Regions from separate parts of the Homo sapiens genome. Here region 2 is linked to region 1. The links are contacts of gene promoters, found by promoter capture Hi-C in human tissues and cell types (Jung and others, 2019). All regions are on one chromosome and are shown on one strand. Each heading gives the region's core, a stretch centred on a gene start or on the middle of the fragment in contact. The rest is flanking DNA. Distances are from core to core; before and after follow the strand shown. Region 1 holds the start of CYP26A1 (cytochrome P450 family 26 subfamily A member 1). Region 2 overlaps KIF11 (kinesin family member 11).

Region 1 (4,244 bases), core at 1,648-4,147:
GGGATGGCTCCAGTTTTAATTTTCCATGGATACATCATGCTCAGTAATTTTGAGGGATATCTTAGCTCCTGTTTTAGTAGCTGCAGATTCTCTGGGGAAGGAGCAGAGGAGGTTCCTTCCCTCCTGCACTTGATATGCTCTGGAGGGAGGCAGACAAGAAATAAACTAGCAAACAAAAGGGTAAGAATATGTCCAGTGGTGATAATCGCCGTCATGGAAATAAAACAGGCCTGTGATAGTGTCTGGGGCTAAATTAGGCTGGATGGGTGGGGGGAACCTTGGAGGAGGTGACATTTGACTTTGGAAGGAACCAGCCAGCGGTGGCCTGGGGGAGGGGTGCCACATGCAGAGGGAACAGCAGGTATAGAACTGTGAGACAGGAACGCACGTTCAGAAATGAGACCGGGGGCTGAAAGGAGAAAAGCGGAGGTGGACTCCTTTGCTGTGACTCCAGTCTAGTCCCTGTACCCTCACCCCACCCCACCAGCAAAAAAAACAAAAAAACAAAAAAACAAAAAACCCGACTCCCCATCCCCGCCTCTTAGCAATAGGGAGGCTGTTTTGTAAACATCTTGGAAACGAGTTGTTTTTCAGTGAACCCACCCCCCTCCCCGCCCACCACCACCCACGAAAGCTTGGCGAGATTCCTAGATCAAAGTTCCTATTGGCCTGGTAATTTATTGACCCCCCACCCCCCGCCCTGCCCCCCTACAAGATGTTCTTTAATGATCGTTCACTCTCACATTTAATCCTTTCCTGCCGGACGCCCCCGCCGGCCTCGATGTACAGATAGATTAAAACGTTTTTTTCCCTGCGGCAATTTCCAGCGTGCAGGCCCCGCTCATCTTGTGACCCGGCTTGAGCTGAACTTGGCGAGGTGGCCCCGCAGAGTTCACTCGGATGTCACGGTCCGGCCTGCAGGGGTCACAGGCGGGTCAGGCCCGAGGATTGGGAATGGGCCCCAGGTCACGTCCCCATTCGTCGGCTTTGCACACCGGCCGGAGGCGCTGTCCAGAAAGGGGCGGACCCGGGATTTCTGAGAATTACCTCCAGCGCGATTGGCCTGGCTTCCTGCAGTGGCCAGAGGTTGGTTCGCCGTGTTTACAGCCACCAAATCGTTTGCCGGAGACTGAAACCCTGCCCAGAGCCTCTGAAACACTGGGCAGGTTATGGGGAAACGCTGACCCCCCGAAACACTCCCTGTGGCGGCGACTCTGGCTTGGAGAGTCGCTAGGATTGTGCGGGTCCCTCCGACCTCTGCAGATATTTCCTGATACCTCCGGGTTTGGGGACTACCGCGAGAAGGGCAACGCATTTAAACTCTCAGGAGCAGAGTTTTCCACCTCCAAGGGACGCCTTCCAAGGCGTGCGGCGTGCTTCTGCCAGAGACAGTGTTCAGTTTTAAACAAATGCAGGTCATTCTGTTTCATTTTCGGCGCCGCAGGTGCGTTCAGCGCCCAAACCCAGGTAGCGTGTGACCCTGACTGGTCCCGAGCCGGGAAGCTCCGGCAGGTGGAGAGCAGAGAGAGCAGGTGCGCGTCCCGCAGCGTCTGAGCTCCGGGCATTGGCAGCTCAGTAGCAGCTGATTGTAGATGGGCAAAGTACAGAAGACTTCCCAGTACGGATCCCTTCACCCCTCCCATTAGGGGTCGGTAGAGCCCTGAGTTTAGGGCCGAGCACCCCCTCACCTGGATGAGGACAGTGGCTTTACTCTGGGTGGGACTTGGGAGAGAGGAGGAGGACTCCAGTGCCCGGTGTACCGGACACCCAGGTAACGCAGTCTACCGTGCCTGGAGCTGGGAAGAGTAGTTGCAACCGGAGCCCCCTTTTGGGAACTCACTACCCTGAGGCTTAGACAGGTCGGGAATGATCGCCTCCCGGTTAAGGAGGAGGAAACAGGCACAGTGATGTGTGGTGACTTGCCCAAGGTCACACGCAGTACAGATGGAGCCGGGCCTCGGAGCCAGGACTCCTGGGCTCCCCTTCCTCTTATACCGTCTCTTTATCCTGCCAGGGCTAAGGACCCCCTTCCCTGCTGTCCAGCTGGGGCGCCAAGCAGCAGGGCCCTCCGAATAGGCGAGCTGTGCTTGGATCTCAGAGACGGGCACCGACTGCCGAGCCCCAGACGAAGTGCCCCAGGGTCGGGGATCAGGCTTGTGCAGGGTAGCACCTGGGGACCTGAGGGACCTGGAGGCCTTCTTGTATCCTGAAGTAGGACCTTCTAAGACTTCATGAGTCCTGGCCCCCTTGCAGGGGTTGGGGAGCTGGGGATCCCAGATCTGCCTATTGCGCCCGATGCCCCGAGGCTCTCTCTTGGACTCTGGCCCTGAGTTCTTCTGCGCGATCCTTCGGAGACGTCTGGAGGCCTGCTTTATGCATCTCTCTTGGACCTCAGTTTCCCCACACGTGGGAGGAGGCAGCTGGACGATTCCTGAAAGGACTTTCCCTTGCTTCCTCATCACGTGGAAGAGAGCCCACCCGGCACCTGGAAATGGAAAGCCAGTGAAGGCTGCTTTGGGCCGGGGCAGCGGGTGGGACCGGGCGGGAGGGATTCCAAAGAGACCGCCGGGAAGGCTAGAGCTTGGAATTCCGGCTCCTCGGAGTCCTGGCCCTCCCCCACCGCCGCCTCGGAGCTCAGCACACCTTGGATGGGGGAGGCGGGCAGCTCCTAGCCCCGCACCCCAGGAGGCGCGCTCGGAGGGAAGCCGCCACCGCGCCGCCTCTGCCTCGGCGCGGAACAAACGGTTAAAGATTTTGGGCAGCGCCTCGCGGGGGGAGGAGCCAGGGGCCCAATCCGCAATTAAAGATGAACTTTGGGTGAACTAATTGTCTGACCAAGGTAACGTGGGCAGCAACCTGGGCCGCCTATAAAGCGGCAGCGCCGTGGGGTTTGAAGCGCTGGCGGCGGCGGCAGGTGGCGCGGGAGGTCGCGGCGCGCCATGGGGCTCCCGGCGCTGCTGGCCAGTGCGCTCTGCACCTTCGTGCTGCCGCTGCTGCTCTTCCTGGCTGCGATCAAGCTCTGGGACCTGTACTGCGTGAGCGGCCGCGACCGCAGTTGTGCCCTCCCATTGCCCCCCGGGACTATGGGCTTCCCCTTCTTTGGGGAAACCTTGCAGATGGTACTGCAGGTAAGGGAGGGTGGGGCGGGACAGGCTGCTTCCCCGGAGCCCGGCGCGGCTCTGGGCTTCTGCTGAAGTCGGGGTAGGCGCCCCCGGGAGGCATGCTATTGCGGCTAGGAGCAGGGCTGGCGGGAGCGCGGCGCTCCCCGGCGCCCCCTCATGCCCACTTCTCTCCTCCGCCTTCCTCCCACAGCGGAGGAAGTTCCTGCAGATGAAGCGCAGGAAATACGGCTTCATCTACAAGACGCATCTGTTCGGGCGGCCCACCGTACGGGTGATGGGCGCGGACAATGTGCGGCGCATCTTGCTCGGAGAGCACCGGCTGGTGTCGGTCCACTGGCCAGCGTCGGTGCGCACCATTCTGGGATCTGGCTGCCTCTCTAACCTGCACGACTCCTCGCACAAGCAGCGCAAGAAGGTGGGGGCAGGAGGCGACGGCTGGACAGGGAGGGGGACCCCATTTATGAGCGGAATTCCGGCTGATGGATGCTAGGCGCGGGCTAGCAGCTTGAGGTGGGCTAGGACCCTCTGCCAGCTCCAGGTTAGCTTTCCCAGCTCGGAGAGTGCCATGTGTCTGGCAGGACTGGGGGTGTCTGGAAGGGGACGGCGGTAGACGAGAGGGGCGGATGGAGGCTTTTAACGCTGTCCCCTCCTCGGGACTCAGGTGATTATGCGGGCCTTCAGCCGCGAGGCACTCGAATGCTACGTGCCGGTGATCACCGAGGAAGTGGGCAGCAGCCTGGAGCAGTGGCTGAGCTGCGGCGAGCGCGGCCTCCTGGTCTACCCCGAGGTGAAGCGCCTCATGTTCCGAATCGCCATGCGCATCCTACTGGGCTGCGAACCCCAACTGGCGGGCGACGGGGACTCCGAGCAGCAGCTTGTGGAGGCCTTCGAGGAAATGACCCGCAATCTCTTCTCGCTGCCCATCGACGTGCCCTTCAGCGGGCTGTACCGGGTAAGGGCGGCAAACGGGCTGCGGACTAGGGGCGCGGGACCTGGGCGTCTGCTCACCGCCGCGCGCTCTCTGCGCTCAGGGCATGAAGGCGCGGAACCTCATTCACGCGCGCATCGAGCAGAACATTCGCGCCAAGATCTGCGGGCTGCGGGCATCCGAGGCGGGCCAGG
Region 2 (4,322 bases), core at 1,798-4,297, 470 kb before region 1:
AAGATTATGTCTCTCCCTTTGGCCCAGACATGTATTGAGTATATAATTGTCTTATTGATGCTACTCTGTGGACTGTGATATTAGTTTTCCCATAATTCCTCTTAGGATGACATTTATTAGGCAATGTAGTTTAACAGATATTTAAGAACCTACTGTGTGCTAAGCATGGTAGTTGTTGCTGGGGAAACAGTAAACTAGACAGTATTTCTTTCTGTAGTGATCTGAGGTTTAGTGGGTAACACATTAAAAAAAAAAGATAAGAGAGGTGATGTTTAGAAAAGGTGTATAAAGGGTGCTGTAGGAATATATAGCAGACATTTAATGTGGTCTTGGTTGGAGCAGGTGGGGGAGGCACATAGGATAGAAAGGACTTCCTGAGGAAATAATCATTTCAACTAAATACCTACTCAGGCATTTCCGTAGAATGAGGACTCTTGATCCAGTCGGCAGTGTAGACCTTCTGTGTCTATTCACTCATTTAAAAATGGGGCTAATAATATTACCAACCTCACAGTGTTGTGTGGACAAACTGAGTGAGCACAATGCAAAGCACTTGAAACAATAAGTACCTGGCACATAGTAAGTACTCAACTTATTAGTCATTATTTTTATGTACTTTTTATTTTGTGCCAGGTATCTACTGGCAGATTAGTATTTTGAACACAAATTTGACATGTTTTTTTCTACTACATCATAACCTAATTTGATCGGATTTTTTTTTTTTTTTTTTTTTGAGACGGAGTTTCGCTCTTGTTGCCCAGGCTGGAGTGCAATGGCGCGATCTTGGCTCACCGCAACCTCCACCTCCCAGGTTCAAGCAATTCTCCTGCCTCAGCCTCCCGAGTAGCAGGGATTACAGGCATGCACCACCATGCCCAGCTACTTTTGTATTTTTAATAGAGACAGAGTTTCTGCATGTTGGTCAGGCTGGTCTCGAACTCCCGACCTCAGGTGATCCGCCTGCCTCGGCCTCCCAAAGTGCTGGGATTACAGGCGTGAGCCACTGCGCCCAGCCTTGATCAGATTTTAAGAATAGGAGAAATGGAATTCTGAAAAATAAGTTTGGCATTTTTACAAGTTAAAACCTGTTAGTGGCTGGGCACAGTGTCTCACTTCTGTAATACTAGCACCTTGGGAAGCTGAGGTGGGATAATCACTTGAGCCCGGAAGTTTGAGACCAGCCTGTGCAACACAGCAAGACCCCATCTCTACCATCAAAACAAAACAAATCTATTCGTATCTGCTCTAAGAAGCTGCCAGAATTGTAATGTCTTAACATATCTTTGAACATTTAAAAAATTATATTTGTGAAACTTGAGACACTTATAATTTTACTGTCTGCTTTAGCAATATCACTTAGTCCTGATTTAATCTCCATCACCAACAATGTGGTCAAAATTTCGCATTTTTCTTGACAAATGTAGTTAGTGAAAATGTCATTGATAACCTGAGAACTAAGAGCTCTTGAATGACTTTGTGTATTTCTTTTTATAGACCATTTAATTTGGCAGAGCGGAAAGCTAGCGCCCATTCAATAGTAGAATGTGATCCTGTACGAAAAGAAGTTAGTGTACGAACTGGAGGATTGGCTGACAAGAGCTCAAGGAAAACATACACTTTTGATATGGTAACATATGGTGCAATTTCTTTATTATCCACTAATGTAAAATAATTTTAATATACATATTTTACCTGGAAAATGGTGTATACTTAGAAATTTCAGTTGTCTCTGAATTGTCAGATGGCTTCTAGTGGGCTGAATTATGAATTAGTTAACATACGAAAAACAAAATTATTAAAATGAGTAATTTTGAGGTTGATTTTTTTTTTTTTAATTTTTTTCGTTAGGTGTTTGGAGCATCTACTAAACAGATTGATGTTTACCGAAGTGTTGTTTGTCCAATTCTGGATGAAGTTATTATGGGCTATAATTGCACTATCTTTGCGTAAGTAAAAGGGTGTTTTTTCTGATTTATGAAAAAGCTTAAATGCTTGTGTTTTTTGTTGTTGTTTGTTTGTTTTTTGAGACGGAGTTTCACTCTTGTTGCCCAGGCTGGAGTGCAATGGCGCGATCTCGGCTCACTGCAGCCTCTGCCTCCTGGGTTCAAGCAATTCTCCTGTTTCAGCCTCCCAAGTAGCTGGGATTACAGCTGCCTGCCACCATGCCCGCTAATTTTTGTATTTTTAGTAGAGACGTGGTTTCACTGTGTTGGCCAGGCTGGTCTCGAACTCCGGACCTCAGGTGATCCGCCCACCTCGGCCTCCCAAAGTGTTGGGATTATAGGCTTGAGCCACTGTGCCTGGCTTGTTTTTTGTTTTTCTAGTCTATCACTAAGAGTCATATGGGTGCATGTTTCTTTTTGATTTAACACTTGTTAATCTTTACAGGTATGGCCAAACTGGCACTGGAAAAACTTTTACAATGGAAGGTGAAAGGTCACCTAATGAAGAGTATACCTGGGAAGAGGTATTTATTGTTTATAACATACTTTTATCTCTAATGTGACTGAAATTTAACTGTATAAAACTTGTTTGAGGGCCTCTGTCTTGGAATAGAGATCAGAGTACCTATGTCAAAATGAACTTAGGATAAACCACTACTACAGTAAAATTAAAGTGCATGGTATGACTCCTGTTTAAGAAACAGCCTCAATGGAAGAGGAAGGACCAATATATATGGCACAGTTATATGATAAAAGAGGAGTCTATTTATGACAGAATGGTTGGAGCAGAATATTGTAGAAAAGTTGGAATATGAGTGAAGCTTGAAGGCAGGGAGGGCTTTGTATTGAAGGAATGGGTCTCAGAAAGTTAGCATGGCCAGGGGAAGTATAGTACTTTATTCATGATGATCCTAAGTGTTCAAGAAATTAAGATGAATGTATTGTTTAATATTGCAGAAAGCATATACTATGTTTTACAAAGATTTCCATGAATTTAAGTGAGTTTAATAACTAAGAGAGAGAACCAATACTGGAAGAAAGTTGAAAGAAGACCAAGACAAGTTGAACTAGAGCTGAAGTGTTAAAACTTTTAAAAAAAAGTTTAGTTTTAAATTTAGTAATGTGTTTAAATTTAAATGAGTTTAATAACTAGTTAATTGGTCGGGCACGGTGGCTCATGCCTGTAATCCTAGCACTTTGGGAGGCTGAGGCGGGCAGATCACCTGAGGTCAGCAGTTCGAGACCAGCCTGGCCAACATGGTGAAACCCGGTCTCTACTAAAAATACAAAAATTAGCTGGGTGTGGTGGTGCATACGTGTAATCCCAGCTACCTGAGAACGAGACTCTGTCTCAAAAAAAAACAAAAAAACAAAAAACCAAAAAACTAGTTAATTTAAAAAAAAAAAGAATTTTTTTTAATTTTTTTTTTTTTTTTTAAATTTTAAAGTGATGGGGTCCCACTGTGTTCCCCAGGCCAGTCTTGAACTCTTGGGCTTCAGGAGTCCTCCCACTTCAGCCTCCTGAGTAGCTGGGATTAGAGGCACATACTACCTTGCCCAGCTAATTTTCCAAATTATTGACAGTTGGGTAGAACCTTTCTTCTAGTGGTTACATAATTGAGTCATTAACTTACTTTACATATATAGATAATAAAGTTATGAAATTGTTACCATAGGAGATATGGAATAGGCTTAAAGCATAGTTTCGCTGGGCAGAATTATTGAACTTGGCGTTTTTTTTTTGAGACGGAGTCTCGCTCTGTCGCCCAGGCTGGAGTACAGTGGCTCGATCTTGGCTCACTGCAACCTCCACCTCCCGGGTTCAAGTGATTCTCCTGCCTCAGCCTCCTGAGTAGCTGGGACTACAGGTACATACCACCAAGTCCGGCTAATTTTTGTATTTTTAGTAGAGATGGGGTTTCACCGTGTTGGCCGGGATGGTCTTGATCTCCTGACCTTGTGATCCACCTGCCTTGACCTCCCAAAGTGCTGGGATTATAGGCGTGAGCCACCGTGCCTGGCCGAACTTGGCTTTTTAAGTAGATAGGTTCCATTGGTTTCTATGTAATGCTCAGGGATGAAGATGGCTAAGAAGTGTGACAGGTTTATGGAGGGTGTGAAGACTACTGTAGAACAGACTGTTGTAAATGACTTCTCTAACATTAGGTTAGTTGTTTCTTTTTTTGTTTTGTTTTAACTTGCTTTGCCATACTTATGTTTAAATATATTATAAAGGAGGCCCATGTATTTTAACTGCCACAGTAAATGGCATTCTTCCTTTATATTAGTCCTTATTATAATTTCAGGATCCCTTGGCTGGTATAATTCCACGTACCCTTCATCAAATTTTTGAGAAACTTACTGATAATGGTACTGAAT

The links. The method cuts DNA at HindIII sites, captures the fragments that hold promoters and counts their contacts. A contact is called where the count stands out against the background at its distance.
Region 2: a contact is called between a fragment that was not itself captured here and the fragment with the promoter of CYP26A1 in region 1, in 1 of the 25 tissues and cell types used here (dorsolateral prefrontal cortex).

Annotation. Positions count from the first base shown.
Region 1 is chr10:93,070,996-93,075,239 of GRCh38, forward strand. It overlaps CYP26A1 (cytochrome P450 family 26 subfamily A member 1), which reads left to right and starts at 2,898. Exons shown (of 7, transcript NM_000783.4): 1 at 2,898-3,128; 2 at 3,313-3,537; 3 at 3,784-4,074; 4 at 4,154-4,244. The coding sequence starts at 2,940. The HindIII fragment of the contact is 10,778 bases long and covers 1-4,244 here.
Region 2 is chr10:92,604,771-92,609,092 of GRCh38, forward strand. It overlaps KIF11 (kinesin family member 11), which reads left to right. Exons shown (of 22, transcript NM_004523.4): 2 at 1,495-1,627; 3 at 1,849-1,946; 4 at 2,389-2,467; 5 at 4,250-4,322. Among named protein-coding and RNA genes, the nearest start is that of KIF11, 14 kb to the left of the region's middle. The HindIII fragment of the contact is 7,011 bases long and covers 1-4,322 here.